2 separate regions of the Homo sapiens genome follow, and region 1 is linked to region 2. The links are contacts of gene promoters, found by promoter capture Hi-C in blood cells and fetal thymus (Javierre and others, 2016). All regions are on one chromosome and are shown on one strand. The core of a region is centred on a gene start or on the middle of the fragment in contact, and the rest is flanking DNA. Distances in the headings are between cores, read along the strand shown. Region 1 overlaps ARMCX5-GPRASP2 (ARMCX5-GPRASP2 readthrough). Region 2 holds the start of ARMCX5 (armadillo repeat containing X-linked 5).

Region 1 (3,883 bases), core at 1,090-3,589, 230 kb before region 2:
GTGCTCTAACATCTCAGGCCAGCATCTCACTTAGCCAGAGTTGATGGTCCAGATCTTCATGTACCACTGTATGGTTCCTGCTTTAAGAGACACCTGTTGCCCACCTAGTTATCTCTCCTGCCCTCCTCTCAGCTGGAGCAGGCTGTTCTGTCTCTGTCAGTAGGGTCTTTAAGTTGCTCTGAGGATTCAATCTTCCCCCACCCTCACCCCACCACCCAGCCTTCTGACAACACTAATGCTGTCCTTACAGTGTCAGAAGTCAGTTTCCAAGGCACACAAACATGGCAGGGACATCCCCTCACAGGAAATTCAGGTGCCTCTTAGGAGGGGAAGTGTGCCACCCCCCTTATTATTAGACATCACATGCATGCCAGACTAACCTGACTTAGGGCCATGGTTTTCAATCCTCTCTTACATCAGGATCCCCTCCTCTCAGGGCTTCCCTAACAGCTGACACCTCCCTAGCATTCTTCCCCATTCCTACTTCCCAGAAAGCACACACCAATGCCATCAGAGCCATAAACGGAGCACAAATCTTAGTCCACAGAAAATAATTCAGGGAGTGAAGGAAGTAGAGGCAGCCCCAGGAACCCACACTGGGGCTTCCATCTCCAGCTGATGGCATCTTGTGAAGAATAGAGCATCATCAGTCACTTGCCATCTCATCATCTCATTCATGACATTTGGGGTCAGGGATAATAATCAGCATCCTATTTCCAGATAATAAGCTATTTTGTGTCCTCTCATTTTATCAGCACGTTAACATCATAGAAGCATGCCATATTTTCATGTTGGGCTCTTGAAACAGGAGACACCACAGAGGAACAAGAGCTGTGAATCTCTAAGTTAACAATTATCTGAGAGAGCTCTTTCAATGGGCAGGTCTAAGGAAATGAGCGATCAGAGTGGCAGTAAAGGCAAAAGCTGGTCATACCTGGAACAGATGGAATGGAGGGGAAATGAGTTTTCACATAACACTTTAGGTGTCAAATGGAATATCTACTTTCTGAGGCCCATATTACTATGGCTTAATCACTTGAATGGACTTTGATATAGAAGTCTTATTTCCAACAACAAGTGAGTTTCTGCTAAAGGTTTAGAAAAGATCTCCAAGCTAATTCTGACATGCATGCAAGTGAAGGAGTCCTACCTGAGGGGTCAGGTTAGGAGCCACATTAGTTTTCTGATCCAGAGAGGAAAGGCAACTAATATTGATAGAACACATTGTTTAGAGGGTCCAGCTCCATGTTCTTCACTTTAGTGATTGAATTTAATTCTCATGACAACCCTACTAGTGAGGTACAATTATGCTCTCTTCATGGATGTATATGACTACAGCGCACTTGCTCCTAAGCACAGAGCTGGATGGCAAAGAGTTTGCTCACCACACAAACTAATGGAGCCAGGGATAGAATCAAGCAGCCTGGGCAATGGTACAAAAATGGTCAGGATTCATAATATCTAAACAGCCCCAAAATCACGTTATTAATCTCAGAAACACTATTTTCAGAGGGGAAAAAGGTGCAAAAGGGCACTTACTCTACAATAGCACAAATATTTATAGCCAAAAATGTACAATTACATATTTTGCATAATTCTCTCCAAGTCTATAAGGAAGGCATCATTATTTCCAGTTTACAGATGACCAACTAAGACTCACTGATGGAAAATCAATTTTGCAGAGGCATCTAGTAATGATCAGGAGCAGGGATGTAACTCTCACTCTCCTCAAAGGACAACACATTGTCTCCTTTTATAGTGGATGACCGTCTAAGACTTAAACACTTGTAGTTTTTTTTTTAATTTTTATTTATTTTATGTATATTTTTTGAGACGGAGTCTCATTCTGTTGCCCAGGCTGGAGTGCAGTGGCGCAATCTCGGCTCACTGCAAGCTCTGCCTCCCGGGTTCACGCCATTCTCCTGCCTCAGCCTTCCGAGTAACTGGGACTACAGGCGCCCGCCACCACACCTGGCTAATTTTCATATTTTTAGTAGAGATGGGGTTTCACTGTGTTAGCCAGGATGGTCTCGATCTCCTGACCTTGTGATCCGCCCGCCTCAGCCTCCCAAAGTGCTGGGATTACAGGCATGAGCCACCACGCCCAGCCAAACACTTGCAGTTTTTTATGTTGCCAGGATTATGCCCTTGTGGGTACTCACTCAACAACCTCTCTCTCTTTGAAAGAGCTGATCGTGCAGATGAAATCCCAGTGCAAGGTCCTATAGGTGGTAATGGGTCTGGTATAAGGGTCAAAGGCTTATGACTCCTGCCTCCTCTTCATCTGCACTCTCTCTTCATTTGAGGCTCAATAGAAACTGCTTTTCCAAATCAACGTAGCAGATCAAATGAGGGGGCAGAAAATGATAGGGGATTGGTTTGACGATCTTCTCATCTCACTCCAATACCTCAGCAAACCATCCTGCAACACAGAAATGGCCCCAAAGGTCCATGTATAATGTAAGTGTGAGCACATGCTCCATCTTCCTGCTCTCCTTCCAGGTGGTCTCTGTGGCAATTATGCTGCTTGGTTTAGATAACAGTCATCACTTCTCTGGGAGGGAGGAAAAAGGTGGGCCTGGATGACCATTCGTTGAAGTTCTACTAGGTGCCATCTACTCTGTATGGGATTTCTCATTTACCCCACAGAAAATTTGTCTAAGAAAGGCATTGTGAGTCCCCTTTTACAGATGAGCAAGGGCAAAGTAGAATGGCAAAGGATTTGATTACCACAGAAACTGAGAGAGCCAGAGATAGTAGCTGGCAACCTGGGCACCTTAAGTGCTGGTGGCAGATCTTTAGCAAATGTATCTGGACACACACTGTTAAGGAAGTTAATGTCTGTCCTCCCTGTGTTTACCCTCCTTGCATTTCCAGCAAGGAACCAGGCTTGGTGTTCCTTCCCCTTGCCTTAGGGGAGGTTTATGACAGGGTTGGGAGCCAAAGATGTCTGAATCCAGTTTCTTCCATTCTTTAGGAAACTTAAACTTAAGGGAAAGATTGGACTGCTTGTTATCTGGTAGGAAAGGGAAGGCCTCTGAGGACATAGAGAAAGGAGAGGAAGAGAGATTTATCCCAAATAGGGATGAGGCCAGAGATCTACTTGTCCCTCCAGGAGTAAGGATCTGAGCACTGCTCCATATCAACCCTTGGGTTTGATCCAACCCCAAGGTCCATTGAAATTGGGCATCCAGCCATGAGACCTATTTTTCTCTTTGGATAAAAGGATGGATGGAACAGGGTCAGGGAGTCCTTAAGGCACCAAGCCAATTAGGCAAATGGTCAGCTCAGCACTGAGCAGGAGGGACACATGATTGATGATGGCAAGGACCTCTCAGGCTGTTAACCAGAGTATAAGTTTCCACAAGTGGGACTGCTTCCTCAAAAAGCATGAATATTAAACATTTGTCTAATTCACCTTAAAATCTCTTTGCTAATTTGTCACAATGAAATACAAGATATGAATACTCATTTTCCAAGATCTGTACAAATAATGGGTTTCACTATATTATTAATATTTGCTAATGTGATATACTTTTGTTGGAATGTTAGATTATTTTTCATTTTCCATATTTTATTTTCCTATAAATGGCATATTTCACATTTAAATTACCAAATGGAAACATAATGATCCAACTTTATGTCTTAAATATGTCCTGGAATAAGAATCTACAATGAACTCAAACAAATTTACAAGAAAAAAACAAACAACCCCATCAAAAAGTGGGCAAAGGATATGAACAGACACTTCTCAAAAGAAGACATTTATGCAGCCAAAAGACACATGAAAAAATGCTCATCATCACTGGCCATCAGAGAAATGCAAATCAAAACCACAATGAGATACCATCTCACACCAGTTAGAATGGTGATCATTAAAAAG
Region 2 (3,901 bases), core at 249-2,748:
TTTCTCTTCTTCGTAATTTCCTAGTTTTAAGTTGGGTGACCATTTTACAAAACTTCACAACTGACAGTTCCACAGACCTGGGGACAGATCTACCTACAGGGATTCACAAAAACAGAGACCAATAAATGAAGACACAGGAGACAGTTGAGGCTGTTTTTGGTAGAGACCAGCACCTAGGGCACAGTTTCTTTCTGGATATAAGTACCTGTTTGGCAAACATTTTCTATCTCCCCTTTTTCTCCCACTCCTAAATCTCCAAGCCCCTCTGCTCTATTCTCAAAGTCTGACAATTCCTATACAGAGACAACTCAAACATCCCTACAAGGTAGTAGTAGTGGTGTTAGTAGGGACGAAATGCCTAGACAAACCACGGAGGCTGGGGAAAAAATGAAAAGTATTTATTTCCATATTTCATCTGGGTTCCTATGTTTCCTTCCTCTCTCCCAAAGCCTATCATTTTCTGCAACATAATGCGGGTAAGGGAGGACATGTTAGGAAAGCTGGCAGAGAGTTCTGGAGGCTCCCTTACACTCCTGCCTACTCTAATCTTAGCCATCTACCACCTCCAAGTACTGCCTCCCAAGTACTGCCCACTCTGTACAAACCAGGCCAATTTTCTTTTCCTTCTCCTCTCCCCTTGAGGTCTGCTGTCCCCTACAGATCTTTACAGAAACATGGAGTGCTGCAAACTTAGGAACAGATTTACACATAAAAACGCGTGATACACACCCAAAGAACAAATGAAAAGACAGAGAGAGAGACGTGGTTATTAATGGTCAGACCAGTAACCAAGACATGAGACCCTTTTCAAATCCAGAGCCTTGATTATCAAACATTTACAACCTCTTTTTACATTCTCTCCCTCTCAGGGCTCCCCAGACAACTGTCCTCGCCTGTGGAAGTAGCCCTCTCTTCCTCATCTAGTCTGCCTTTTCCCTGCTAGAAGCTGCAACCTTTTTCTTCCCAAGCATGGTCTGAGGTGAACCGAGTGTATGGAAATCAAGCTAGCAAAAGGTAGATCATTTTTTTTTAATTGTTGTGTGCCATTCCAATTACCCATCTCTCTCTCCTTCTCACCGCCCGCCTCCCATGACCAGGTCGCGTATCCAGTGTTCACCTCTGATACCCACATCCACCCCCAAGCGATGCGCACCTTCTCACTGACCTTCTCTGCTTGGATCAGAGGCAGTTTTCTTATTTCCTTGCCTCGAGGTGCTGTGTCATACAGCAGCAGGAACAGACAGTCAGACACAAGGACTCGAGGCAATGGCGGCGGCTGTGTATGGGGATTGACTCGGCACCTGGGACTCAAGACGAGATAACCGCTTTATCAGATTAAAGACTGCGATTGGCAAACTGTTGTCACTTTTGGTATTCTTTTCTCCTTCCTGTTCCCAGGGCTCCTCAGAACCTCGCGCGTAGTTACCATTTAACATCTACCTTTTCCTCCGCAGACGAGGTTCTTCCACGTCCGCGTTACCCACAACGGCAGTGGGAGGAGCTAGAGCGTAGTTTATGGGGATCCGGCTTATGGAAGCGGAGTGATATCAGGCTTTGTTTAGCGCCGCGACTCTTTTCTGTCGGAGGGCTCCCTGTCCTGTACCCTGTGGCCGCTTCAGGTATTGGAATGCGCAGGGACGAATTCCGGATATAGGGAAAACGGCGCTGGAACAAGAGAGGCAGACAAATACCAGAGTGTTTCTGTATTAGTTCCCCTTTTGCGGGAGCTCCCCCCACCAAGCCTACCATTCTTTCCTGAACTGAAATGCACATGGGTTTCCAGCTGTGGTGTCAGGAAATCTCTTCTGGCCTGACAGGCGGAAGTGTTCCAGTCTTTCGAAGTTCGTTCTCCAAACACAGAGGCCCACTGAAATGGGCGGTCTCGGGGTGGGGCCCAGGGTAGGAAAGTCAGCAAAGAGAGTCAAGACTGAGATAGGAGGATACATACTAATCGATTCCACAAACTTTGTGTTCCTTCGAGTCCTCCCTCCCAGCCCTTAATTTTCATTTTCTTTTTTTTTTTTTTAAGTTCTAGGATACATGTGCAGGATGTGCGTGTTTGTTAAATAGGCAAACGTGTGCCGTGGTGGCTTGCTGCACCAATCAACCTATGACCTAGGTATTAAGCCTGGCATGCATTAGCTATTTTTCCTAAGGCTTTCCCTCACCGCCCCCCACAACCCCTGACAGGTCCCAGTGCGTGTTTTTCCCCTCCCTGTGTACATGTGTTCTCATTGTTCAGCTTCCACTTATAAGGGAGAACATGCAGTATTTGTTTTCTGTTGCTGCATTAGTTTGCTGAGGATAATGGCTTCCAGCTCGATCCATGTCCCTACAAAGGACATGATCTCATTCTTTATTATGGCTGCATGGTATTTCATGGTGTATATGCACCACATTTTCTTAATGTTATCACTGATGGGCATTTGGGTTGATGCCACGTCTTTGCTATTGTGAATAGTGCGGCAATGAATATACGTGTGCGTGTATCTTTGTAATAGAATGATTTATATTCCTTTGGGTATATACCCAGTAATGGGATTGCTGGGTCAAATGGTATTTCTGGTTCTAGATATTTGAGGAATTGCCACACCGTCTTCCACAATGGTTGAACTAATTTACATTCCCACCAATGTAAAAGCGTTCCCATTTCTCTGCAACTTTGCCAGCATCTCTTGTTTCTTAACTTTGTATTAATTGCCGTTATGACTGGTGTGAGATGGTATCTCATTGTGATTTTGATTTGCATTTCTCTAATGATCAGTGATGTTGAGCTTTTTTCCATGTGTTTGTTGGCCACATAAATGTCTTCTTTTGAGAAGTGTCTGTTCATGTCCTTTGCCCACTTTTTAATGGGGTTGTTTGTTTTTTTCTCGTAAATGTAAGTTCCTTGTAGATTCTGGATATTAGACCTTTGTCAGATAGATAGACTGCAAAAATTTTCTCTTCTGTAGGTTACCTGTTCACTCGGATGATAGTTTCTTTTTCTGTGCAGAAGCTCTTTAGTTTAATTAGATCCCATTTGTCAAATTTTGCTTTTGTTGCAATTGCTTTTGGCAATTTGCCTGTGCCTGTGTCCTGAATGGTATTGCCTAAATTTTCTTCCAGGGTTTTTATAGTTTTGAGTTTGACATTTAAGTCTTTAATCCATCTTGAGTTAAATTTTGTATAAGGTGTAAGCAAGGGGTCAAGTTTCAGTTTTCTACATATGGCTAGCCAGTTTTCCCAGCACCATTTATTAAATAGGTAATCCTTTCCCCATTGCTTGTTTTTGTCAGGTTTGTCGAAGATCAAATAGCTGTATATGTGCAGTCTTATTTCTGAGTTCTCTATTCTGTTCGACTGGTCTATGTGTCTGTTTTTGTACCAGAACCATGCTGTTCTACAAGGTTACTGTAGCCTTGTAGTATAGTTTGAAGTCAGGTAGTGTGATGCCTCCAGCTTTGTTCTTTTTACTTAGGATTGTCTTGGCTATACGAGCTCTTTTTTGGCTCTGCGTGAATTTTAAAATAGTTTCTTCTAATTCGGTGAGAAATGTCAATGGTAGTTTGATGGGAATAGCATTGAATCTATAAATTACTTTGGGCAGTATGGCCATTTTCACGATATTGATTCTTCCTATCCATGAGCATGGAATGTTTTTCTATCTGCTTGTTTCCTCTTTGATTTCCTTGAGCAGTGGTTTGTAGTTCCCCTTGAGTAATGATCTTACTGCTAAAGTATGTCTATCAACTGATAAAATTTTAAAATCATCATTCATTTTCATAATAACTGCTGTTTTATGACTTATGTAATTATCTTAGGAACATTTCAGACATTTGAAAGATCCAAAGCAGAAAAGGTATCTTATATACACCTTAAAAAATGAGGATATCAGAGAATAACCTAAGTATATTATTAG

The links. Contacts are between HindIII fragments. The CHiCAGO score rates a contact against its expected background, and 5 or more counts as called.
Region 1: a contact is called between a fragment that was not itself captured here and the fragment with the promoter of ARMCX5 in region 2, in 1 of 17 cell types (megakaryocytes). The highest score is 6.4, in megakaryocytes.

Annotation. Positions count from the first base shown.
Region 1 is chrX:102,828,427-102,832,309 of GRCh38, reverse strand. All of the region lies in intron 10 of ARMCX5-GPRASP2 (ARMCX5-GPRASP2 readthrough), which reads right to left. The region is part of intron 2 of LINC00630 (long intergenic non-protein coding RNA 630); the gene reads right to left. Among named protein-coding and RNA genes, the nearest start is that of LINC00630, 61 kb to the right of the region's middle. The HindIII fragment of the contact is 6,254 bases long and covers 1-3,883 here.
Region 2 is chrX:102,597,112-102,601,012 of GRCh38, reverse strand. It overlaps ARMCX5 (armadillo repeat containing X-linked 5), which reads right to left and starts at 1,498. Exons shown (of 4, transcript NM_001168478.2): 1 at 1,166-1,498; 2 at 1-93. ARMCX5-GPRASP2 (ARMCX5-GPRASP2 readthrough) reads right to left here and starts at 1,498. Exons shown (of 19, transcript NR_146584.3): 1 at 1,166-1,498. RefSeq lists enhancers at 1,199-1,248, 681-1,452. The HindIII fragment of the contact is 9,703 bases long and covers 1-3,901 here.